Linked DNA regions of Homo sapiens: regions 1 and 2 are each linked to region 3. Evidence: promoter capture Hi-C in 16 types of primary human blood cells and fetal thymus (Javierre and others, 2016). All regions are on one chromosome and are shown on one strand. Each heading gives the region's core, a stretch centred on a gene start or on the middle of the fragment in contact. The rest is flanking DNA. Distances are from core to core; before and after follow the strand shown. Region 1 has its middle 9.0 kb from the start of MCUB. Region 2 overlaps MCUB (mitochondrial calcium uniporter dominant negative subunit beta). Region 3 holds the start of CFI (complement factor I).

Evidence for each region. The method cuts DNA at HindIII sites, captures the fragments that hold promoters and counts their contacts. A CHiCAGO score of 5 or more calls a contact.
Region 1: a contact is called between a fragment that was not itself captured here and the fragment with the promoter of CFI in region 3, in 2 of 17 cell types (naive B cells and total B cells). The highest score is 6.1, in naive B cells.
Region 2: a fragment that was not itself captured here is called in contact with the fragment with the promoter of CFI in region 3 in 1 of 17 cell types (erythroblasts); the score reaches 5.7 in erythroblasts.

What each region holds. Positions count from the first base shown.
Region 1 is chr4:109,549,355-109,553,132 of GRCh38, reverse strand. It overlaps the pseudogene SETP20. Among named protein-coding and RNA genes, the nearest start is that of MCUB, 9.0 kb to the left of the region's middle. The HindIII fragment of the contact is 1,212 bases long and covers 1,462-2,673 here.
Region 2 is chr4:109,573,502-109,577,124 of GRCh38, reverse strand. All of the region lies in intron 1 of MCUB (mitochondrial calcium uniporter dominant negative subunit beta), which reads right to left. Among named protein-coding and RNA genes, the nearest start is that of MCUB, 15 kb to the right of the region's middle. The HindIII fragment of the contact is 181 bases long and covers 1,674-1,854 here.
Region 3 is chr4:109,800,723-109,804,295 of GRCh38, reverse strand. It overlaps CFI (complement factor I), which reads left to right and starts at 2,297. Exons shown (of 13, transcript NM_000204.5): 1 at 2,297-2,381. The coding sequence starts at 2,325. LOC124900757 (a long non-coding RNA gene) reads right to left here and starts at 624. Exons shown (of 2, transcript XR_007058226.1): 1 at 461-624. The HindIII fragment of the contact is 11,045 bases long and covers 1-2,332 here.

The DNA.
Region 1 (3,778 bases), core at 818-3,317, 250 kb after region 3:
CCTATTCTTGAGGTCTCTTTTCTCTACACTTAATTGGGGGAAATATCTTGAGCAGACTACATTGAGAAAAGAGTCTCTACCCCTTTCTGTTCGAAATTCATTTTTATCCCTTCCTGTCTGAATAAAAACTGTATGGAATCAACACCACCAAGTTCTGTGGGAAAAAAGAAAAACCTGCTCCCTTCGCTCTGCTGGAAGCTGGAGGGTGCTAGGCTCCTGCGTAGCAGTGCATAGAATTCTAGCTTCTTGCCTCCTTTCTCTGTATATTGGGCTCAGAAAGTACACTGTGTGTCTATGTGAATATGGACAGTTAGCACTGACCAACATGTATCTATTTTCTCTTGTTTAAAAAAAAGAAAAAAAAAACTTTTAAAAATGGGGTTGGCTGGGTGCAGTGGCTCACACCTGTAATCCCAGCACTTTGGGAGGCCGACGCGGGTGAATCACCTGAGGTCAGGAGTTCGAGACCACCCTGGCCAACATGGTGAAACCCCGTCTCTACTAAAAAAATACAAAAATTAGTTGGGCGTGGTGGCAGTCACCTGTGATCCCAGGTACTCGGGAGACTGAGGCAGGAGAATCGCTTGAACCCAGCAGGCGGAGGTTGCAGTGAGCTGAGATGCGGTTGGTTGCATTAACTTCTACTTCCTGCCAGTTAGCCCTTACTCTGCTTTTTTTTCCCTTTAGCATTTAATCATTACCTGACATATTACATACTTTTAAAATCTGTCTCCCCCAACTGGAATGTAAGCTCCATGACAGAAGGGACCTTGTCTGTTTTGTTCACTGCTCTATCACCAGCACCTAAGTAGTAGGTTCTCAAATATCTGCTGAATAAATTTAATAGATCAATAATAAAACAGGACTTTAAAACTACAACCGCCCTTAGGCTGGGCACAGTGGCTCACGCCTATAATCCTAGCACTTTGGGAGACCGAGGTGGGTGGATTGCCTGAGCTCAGGAGTTTGAGACCAGCCTGGGCAACATGGTGAAACCCCATCTATACTAAAATACAAAAAATTAGCCAGGCATGGTGGTGTGCACCTGTAATCCCAGCTACTCGGGAGGCTGAGACAGGAGAATCTCTTGAACCTGGGAGGCAGAGGTTGCAGTGAGCCGAGATCACTCCATTGCACTCCAGCCTGGGTGACAGAGCAAGAATCTGTCTCAAAAAAAACAAACAAACAAAAAAACAAACCCCAAAAAACTACAGCCACTTTTAAAAATAATAGAAACACACAAACTTGTGGTTAGTAGTACATGAGGATTTGCCAGACACTGTTCTAGGCTGATGGTAGAGTGATGAATAAAAACGATGAGTTTCTATATTCACAAACTATGTATTTGTCAAAGGACTAATATCCAGAATCTACAAAGAACTCAAACAAATCAGCAAGAAAAACACAAATAATCCCATCAAAAAGTGGGCAAAGGATGTGAATAGACAATTCTCAAAAGCTTATACAAACAGCCCACAAACATATCAAAAAATGCTCAACATCACTAATTATCAGGGAAATGCAAATTAAAACCACAATGAGATACCAACTTACTCCTGCAAGAATAGCCATAATTAAGAAGTGAAAAAACAATAGATGTTGGTGTAGATGTGGTGAAAAGAAAACACTTTTATACTGCTGGTGCTAATGTAAACTAGTCCAACCACTATGGAAAACAATATGAAGATTCCTTAAAGAATTAAAAGTAGATCTACCATTCAATCCAGCAATCCCAATCCCACTACTGTGTATCTACTCGAAGGAAAAGAATTCATTATATGAAAAAGACACGTGCACACACGTTTACAGAAGCACAATTTGCAACTGCAAAAATATGGAACAAACCTGAATGCCCATCACCCAAGTAAATAAAGAAAATGTGGTGTGTATATATATATACACACACCATGAAATACTACTCAGCCATAAAAAACAAAATAATGTCCTTTGTAGCAACTTAGATGGAGCTGGGGGCCATTATTCTAAGTGAAATAACTCCAGAATGGAAAACCAAATATAGTATGTTCTCGCTTATAAGCAGGGGCTAAGCTATGAGGATGCAAAGATGTAAGAATGATATAATGTACTTTGGGGATTCAGGTGTGGGGAAGGTTGGGTGGGGGTGAGGGATAAAAGACTACATAGTGGGGTCAGGCACGGTGGCTCATGCCTGTAGTCCCAGCACTTTGGGAGGCCGGGGCGGATGGATCGCTTGAGGCCAGGAGTTCAAGACTAGCCTGGCCAAAATGGCAAAACTCCATCTCTACTAAAAATACAAAAATTAGCCGGGCATGGTCGTGTGTGCCTGTAGTCGCAGTTACTCGGGTGGCTGAGGCATGAGAATCGCTTGAATCTGGGAGGCAGAGGTTGCAGTGAGCCAAGATTGGCCACTGCACTCCAGCCTGGGTGACAGAGCAAGACTCCAACTCAAAAAAAAAAAAAAAAAGAAAGAAAGACTACATATTAGGTACAGTGTATACTGCTTGGGTAATGGTGATGGGTGCATCAAAATCACAGAAATCACCACTGAAGGACTTATCCATGTAACCAAAACCACCTGTACCCCACAAAACTATTGAAATAAAAAAAAATTTAAAAAATTGACACTTAAGAACTTTTTTTTTTAAAGATGAGTTCTGTGTTCTTCCTTACACAGAACCTAGTGGGGAAGCTTGTTCACCTAGTGAACAAGTAATTAAGTAGAGTGACATAAAGGTTATAAGAGTAAAACTACAAGGGCTATGTGAACATACAGCAGGGAGACCCCACCTAAGCTAGTGGTAAGGGACAGGCTGGCATCAGTACACACTAATAACTGAAGGAGGAAGAGCAGCTAACCAGATAAAAAAGTAAAGATGAGTTCTTAGCAGGAGGAACAGCATGTTTACAGGCTCAGAGGCTTAAGAGGTCATAACCACTATTGTAATAAAGAGATAGGTCAAAAGCCTGAGAAAGTCTTTTTGGAATAAACCTGATAGCAAAAACAAACAAACAAAAAAAAACCCACAATTGTGACTTACTGGTGAGCATCGAGTTTTGAAGTCTGATGTTATGTACATGTAATGAACTAAGACTACTTGCTTCTTTCTGTATACCCATCTGTACTGGATGGTCTGAAGCAAAAAAGTGTAGTTAATACATCGATCACAGTAAAAGTGGAGGTAGCAGCAGCCCACATGATAATATTTTGGTTTTCCATGTCCAGTGTGGAATAATTGCAGTGAAGGTGGAAAGTGATAGGAGGGCAAAGGGCAGGCTCAATGTGGGAGTATTATTACTATTATTACTGTTGTGCTGTTATTTTGTTAAGACATTGACTGCCATTTATCAAGTATTTACTACAAGTAAGGTGCTGCACAAGAAACTTTACATACTCGTTCCATATAATTCTCACAAAACTCTTACCAAGGAACCATTATTCTCTAGTAGGGATATGAAAGCTCAGAGAAGTTTAGAAACTTACCCCAGGTAACACAGCTAACAGAGGAACTATAATTCAAATTTTGTTCTGTTTGGCTTGCAAACCCATATTCTTTCTATTACAGTCAGTCTAACATAATGTGACAGATCCAGTGCTAGAACTGAATTCTTTTTCACTATCAAATTTATTCCCACTATACCTCTCAGACTGTCTTCTAATTTCCCTTCAGCACAGTACGGAATGTTGGTTGGTTGGCATTCTTTACCTGGTGGGAGATGCAAATCTTACTTTTGAAGAGTTTGAATCATTAGTGATCCATTCTTTTATTAGGCTGCTATATTTCTTTAACTTTTAGTA
Region 2 (3,623 bases), core at 515-3,014, 230 kb after region 3:
ATCCCAGCACTTTGGGAGGCGGAGGCAGGCAGATCACTTGAGGTAAGAAGTTCAAGACCAGCCTGGCCCACATGGCGAAACCCTGGCTCTACTAAAAATACAAAAATTAGCTGGGCGTGGTGGCACATGCTTGTAATCCCATCTACTCAGGAGGCTGAGGTGGGAGGATCACTTGAACCTGGGAGGCAGAGGCTGCAGTGAGGCGAGATTGCGCCACTGCACTCCAGCCTGGGCAACAAAGTGAGACTCCATCTCAAAAAAAAACAAGAAAGAAAAGAAAGAATTTCTGAGTATCTGGCTTGGCCCTTGACACAGGGTTGTTGTCCACAACCCCTTCATCTTGCCCATCAATAGTAGTCCAAGGTTAGTACACCATCCCTAGTGGTTCCCCTGCGCCCACATCTCTGTGAATCATCCTTTGTGTATAAACTTCCCTCTAATTATCCTAATCTAAGTGGGCCATCTGTTTCCTGTTGGACCATGAATTATACAATCACTTTACACTCTCACTAGCAACACAAAAGAGTTCCCACATCATGCCATGCTTTACGCTTTGAGTTTTTTGTTTTTCTTTGGCAATTTGACAGGCAAAAAAAAAAAAAAAAAGGCAAATGTTATCTTTTTCTACTATTGTTTTTGCATTTTTTTGACTATCAGTGAGGCTGACCACTTTTCATGTTTATTTGCATTTTTATTCCCTGTTCTGAAAACCACTCATGTCTTTTACCCATTTCTTAATGTTTTTCTGATAAGTTTGAATGATCACTTCATATATATTTGTTATTTGGATGAAAGAAACAAATACCTACTTGACTTACCATAAGTAAGAATGGAAATTTACTCTGAGGACTTAGGAATGTCTCTAACGGAGACTACATAGAAGGATTTAATTAAGCCTCAGGAATGGACTCAGGATCAGGAACTGGAGTGTTATATTGAGGTTGGGAAGTCCTCTTGATCCGTATTTCGTCTCCTCCTATCTGCCTGTCAGCATCATTCTGCTTATCACTATAAAATGAATTGTTACTGCTTCTTGGTCCACATGGTAGAAAATGGTCACCACCAAATGGCCCCAAGTACAACTCCACTATTCAAAAGAGCAGCCAGCAGAGGTGAGAATCCTAGACTTAGTTCTAAATTCCTGGGTCAGGTGGCCAATTGAATGAAGGTCAGGTTGGACTAAGATGGCCAATTCGACTAAACCAGGTAGATAAGAGTGAAAAGGTTCCCAGGAAAGCAGTGTGACTAGCACAGACTACAAAGCTGTTCTAAAGTTTCAAAACCAAGAATATTACTATGCTATTATAATATTAATAATTTTAATGGTCACTGCTATACTTATGAAATGACCTTTTTCTAATGTCTAATAGCCTTACATAAATGGGATAACTATAAAGATATTTCATCCTAATTTAGTGTGAAAGATACATTAAGGTGGTATATTTTCTCTCCAAGAGAGGTTAGACTTTGGTGTCAGTTTTCACATAATTGCAGGCATAACAACTGTTGATTACGATGCTTAGTCACTGGCACAAATTCAGACTCCACTAATTAAATGGCAGCACAATCCCACTAAATTGAATAAACTAATTAAACGAATGTGGCTGGATTCGTTATAAAGTGAATTTCATATGTCAAGATGGACTATAACCTGTCAGTACAGCAGCCAAGCTTAAGCTCAAATGAACAACAGTTATGAGTAGTACACTTGAGTTGGTTTCAGGCAAAACCTCACAACAAACAGTCTAACCCCCAATGACCTTTTACAGAAAGATTAATAATATCATATCAATAAAAAGCTAAAACAAAATTACTCTCACTAAATAGTTATTACACTATAAATAAGCCAAAGCTTTTCCTTGGTGGGGAAGGCAGATGGTAAGGAGCGGGCAGAACAAGGGATGAACAGCAGTAGGCTAATTTTAGCAAGGCATCTGAGTTTATCAATCTCCAAACCTCAGTGGTTTCTGACATTGTGATAGATATCAAAGCTGGGTACCCAAGGGACCTCAGAGAACATCAGCGATGAAAGGAAGCGTAGAGATTAAGATCACCTCAGCTTCCATTCTGACCTGCGGCAGCCCTGGGTCTCAAATGCTCCTATTTAAGCTAACTTTTTGGCTTCTCAATAATCTACCCATCTTTCTTTCTACTCAGTCTAACTTCTCATGCAATTGTTAAGTCTCATACTTTTTTTGGATCTCTGTCTTACCCAATCCATCTCTGGGTTGGATTCTCTGTCCCTGGAACAAGTGCTGCTTCCCTGATTTCTATTCTAGGCACTAACACTGTATTTAAAATGAGCACTTCGTTATCAGTGCTTGACCAGTCCGGCTCTGTCTCCCATCCCTCCTTGGCCTGACCAGCGTGGCAGTGCTCATGAGTGCAGCTGCCACCTTCAAGTACTGCACAACAGCTGCTGTCTCATTCCTCATATGATGGTTATTAACGTCTTGTATATGCCCTCAAATTCTCCCTTTTTGACTGCTCTGTGAAAATAGATCTGGGACCTTTAAATATTTTTCCTTTGCTGACTGGCACTGAAGTTTTTTCAGTAGAGGACACTAGAGAGCCACTGACGGAGGAAAAGATTTTGCTTCCTGGTTCGGGTGTGTTCACTTCACAGGCTCCTATTGCATAGATATAGATGGCTTCTCCAGCACCAGGCTCTAGCTGTGTTGGCAGTTTTTCCAGTGCTTCTTTAGCTTCTGCCTGAGTTATTTTAGAAACTTGGGAGTCCTACACTTCAAGAAGCAGTCTATTAGGGAACAGCCAGAATGGATACAAAAATTTTCTTGAACTGAGCTGAACTCTGCCTACCTATTCTGCTCTATCTTGGGAGTAATTTCCTTGCTTGGAAGCAACACAGAATGACAACCTTCTTTCACATGATACCATCTCAGATATTTGAATGCAAATATCTTGCTTTTCCTCAGCTTCTTTTTCACTAGATTAAAAATATGCAGCCCCAGTCGGGCACAGTGGCTGACACCTATAATCCTGGCACTTTGGGAGGCAGAGCCAGGAGTTCAACACCAGTCTGGCCAACACGGTAAAACTCTGATTGTACTAAAAACGCAAAAATTAGCCGGGCATGGTGGTGGCGCGCCTGTAATCCTAGCTTCTTGGGAGGCTGAGGCAGGAGAATAGCTTGAACCTGGGAAGTGGAGGCTGCAGTGAGCCGAGATTGCGCCACTGCAATCCAGCCTGAGCAACAGAGCGAAACTCTGTCTCAAAAAAAAAAAAAAAAAAAAAAATTCAACCCTTTTAATCATCTCCTACAAGAACTCTCACCATCTTAATCATCTTCTGAATGCACCTCCCTGTCCAGCTTTGTTAGTGTTCTTTGTAAAGTACTGCCCCAGTAACAAAACACAATGCCCTTGACTCAGTCTGACAATCAATGTGACAATCCCAATGTAATGAAATGGAACTGTTTCTTGCTGTAATCAGATGCTGCATTTCTCTTCAATTAGTTAGGAGCCATACTAGCTTCTAGAATCCATCATTCATGAGTGGATCAACGGAAACTTCCAGATCCTTTGTACACAACTACCAAGCCAGGACTCCCTCATCCTATACATACTTTTCTCCCCCATTAAGAGAAACAACCTTTTCCTAGC
Region 3 (3,573 bases), core at 1,048-3,547:
CTGATTCTTTCACTCTTTGGAGGGTCAGTGGTCTATTCTTACAGGAATAGACATATTTGAGGTATGAGTGTGCCTTTCTTGCCTGCAGGGCCTCCATTAGCACCATAATCCAGAGAATTATAGAGTGCTTAATTATCTAGCAAAGATCACATCCTGCCAGACAAGGGTGCCCACTTTACAGCAAAGCAGGCCCAGGAGTGGGCCTGTGATCATGCAATCCCCTGGTCATATCACATACCACACCACTCAGAAGCTGGTGGACTTACAGAATGTTATAATGGGCTGCTGAGGACAGAGCTGAGGTGCCAGTTAAATGCAAAACTTTGTGAGAATGGGGTGCTATCCTCCAGGAAGCAGTATATACATTCAATCAAAGACTTTCATATAGCATTATGTTCCCAATAGGAAGAATACCTGGGTCTGGGAACCAAGGAATAAAGGCAAGAATTACCACACTTACCATCACCACCATTGACCAACTGGGGGCTTTGTGCATCTTGTCTCCACAGTTGTAGACTCTGCAGGGTTCGTTATCTTGGTCTCCAAAGGACTATACTTTCACCAGGGGCAAGCAAGAGTCCCATGGAATTATAAACCAGAGCTGTTGCCTGGGGTACGCTGGGCTCTTTGTGTCTAGGAACTAGCAAGAAAGAGTCAGAATCCACAAGGGTAATTGGCCCTGATCATTCCGAGGAAGTAGGGCTGCTATTACTATAATGTGGGCAGGGAGGAAGATGTGTAGAACCCACATAACCTACTGGGGTACCTCTTATTTTTTGCTTTTTTTGGTTTCTTTTTTAAGAGAGGGTCTCTCTTTGTCACTTAGGCTAGAGTGCAGTGGTGCAATCATGGCTAACTGCAGCCTCAACCTCTCCCTGTGTTGCCCAGGCTCATCTCAAACTCCTGGCCTCAAGCAATCCTCCTGCCTTGACCTCCCAAAGTGCTGGGATTACAGGAGTGAGCCACCATGTCCAGCCTGCCTCTTGTGACAGTAGGGATAAAAATGGCAACTTTTGCCTGAGAAACAAAAGGTAACCAGGGGCTCAGACCACTCCTGAAAGAGAGTGTGGGACATGTCATCCAGTAAGTCACCGAGACCAGCAGAGGTGGGAGGTCAAGGTAAAGGGAATCTAAAATGGATAGGAAGGGGGCCAAGGGTAAGTTTCAACTACAGCCCCAAGATCAACTGCAAGGGTAGGAGCTGTAGTTTTTCCCATTAACTTCCTCTTCTAAGTTTTCTCTCAAGAATAGGGACCCACTGAAATGTTTAAGGAGCCACTCCTGGAGTGTATATGGAACATAGATCTAAGAGGTGCAAGTATGTACTCTGAAAGACACAGAGATGAGTTTCCCAGAACCCTTGTCAAGGAAGGTCTTGCTACCTGGCTGTAAAGAGTGTAGTCAGAAGATACCTCCTCCTGATAGCACATAACTGTCAGATCCTTCTGTGTCTGCCTTAGCTACAGAAAACTGTCTCACCTAAGTGTATGCCCTTCCTGGGCAATATATAGTAGGGGACCAAGCAAGGCAGAATATAATGGCCCAGCCATTTATACTGAAATCAGGGGCACTGTGACAGGTCACACTCACTCCAGTTCAACTTCTACCTCTGTTCACCCCTGCTTCCCCTCCCTTCCTTGTATGGATATCGATCCCTAACAAACACTTGTGCCCCACACTCACTGTCTCAAGTCTGCTTCTGATGAACCCAACTGTGTCAGCATTTCTGCTATCACAGATTTATTTCATAAATAGATAAACCCTGCATGATAGTTGGTACTGGCACAAGAATACTTGTTTTTAAAATTTCTTGTACTCCAAAAATACAATTTGATCACAGCACAACAAATGCATGGTAAAGAAGCTGGTTTCTAGAGTTTTAAATGTATTTTGCAGCCTTCACTATATGGTCTACTTTTATTCTTACTGTCTCCTAGTCTTCAACCTTAAGTTTAAAAAATTATATTTTTACTGTACAAAAAAAAAACCAAAAAATTGCTTCCAATATAATTTCTGTCTTCCCTGGAATACAGAATTGAGTCATTGCAATTAACAGGGTGGGAGGAAATCAGTCTCTTCTGGTGGAAACAAGTTCCTATTGGTCACCTCCCTCAGCTCTTTAATGGGAAGGCCATTTTTTGGTTTCAGTTACGGTAAATCTCTCTGGATTTCAGCCAAATTCTTTCAGAGTTCAAAAGTACAAAGCTCTTTAGGAGGTTTGTTCTTTTGAAACATTTTTTCAGAGGTTAAAAATTAAATTTCAAAAGAATACCTGGAGTGGAAAAGAGTTCTCAGCAGAGACAAAGACCCCGAACACCTCCAACATGAAGCTTCTTCATGTTTTCCTGTTATTTCTGTGCTTCCACTTAAGGTTTTGCAAGGTAAGTAATTCAACCTTTATGCAAACAATTTTAATTGATAATTTAAAGGTTGTAAAAACATAGAAAATAATCTTAAATATATAATTTTGATTTAAATATTACATAGTTCAGTTACAACAATGCCACTCTATAGTCAGCAACAAATGTTTTATGTTAATATCTTGATAAAAGTGATTTTTTAAAAATAGTTCTTTTTATGTGCTTATATATGCAGAGGCATTGAACTGAACAAGAATTTTACTAATACAAGGCTGTGATTTACTGTAATTGTAGTAAATCAAAAATATTTACCAGGCTCCTCCTGTGTGTAAGGTACAGTGCTACGAAGACAGTGAGACTGATCTCTTCCTTCAACAGCCTCTTAGTACGCTCTATAGTTATAGAAAGGGGAAATAATAAGCAAATTTGAAACATCTGAAAACACAAAAGTGCAAGTTACAAGACAGTATATATTTAATTGTCAAAAGTGATACAAATATGTGGTAAAGGACTTCAATGAGAGGACAAATCACTTCATGCTGAGAGGTCATGAAGAGATTATAGATCAAGTAGGATTTGAGCTGAACGTTTAATTCTGTATTACATGTGATCAGTGGTGAGAAAGAGGAGTGATTTCCAGCTTCTTTAGCCAGGAAAAGCAGCAAGTGCTACCATAGGAAGGCAGCAATGCACTAGGCCCCTCCAAATAAATGAATCCATTTGATCAGAATGAAGGCTTTGTGGGCTACAAAGGAACTCGAAACTGAAATGACATATTTTATTGAAGTTAGAGTGTCATCTATTAAGGTGAAAAATGTTTAAAATATTTTGGATACTTATTGATGATTGCCAACTTTGGTGGCAATCCAAAACTATCTTGTCTTAGTGCCAGCTTGTAGAAGAAAATATTTAAAGAAAACTACTTAAGAAAACACACTTTAAGATTCTTGTAACTTCTAAAATAGTTGCCATCATTGCAATGTTTATAATAGAGAATAAATGGAAATAACTAAATGCTTATTAATAAGACACTGGTTAAATTATTGTATATCCAAAATTGAACTATTACATAGCCATTGAAATGACATATTTATCTAAATAAAAAGTCCTTACTACAATTTTATTTTTATTGAAGAAAAACACACACACACATATGTATGTGTGTTTATATGCATATATATAAATGCATACTTATACCTACTTATATATATGA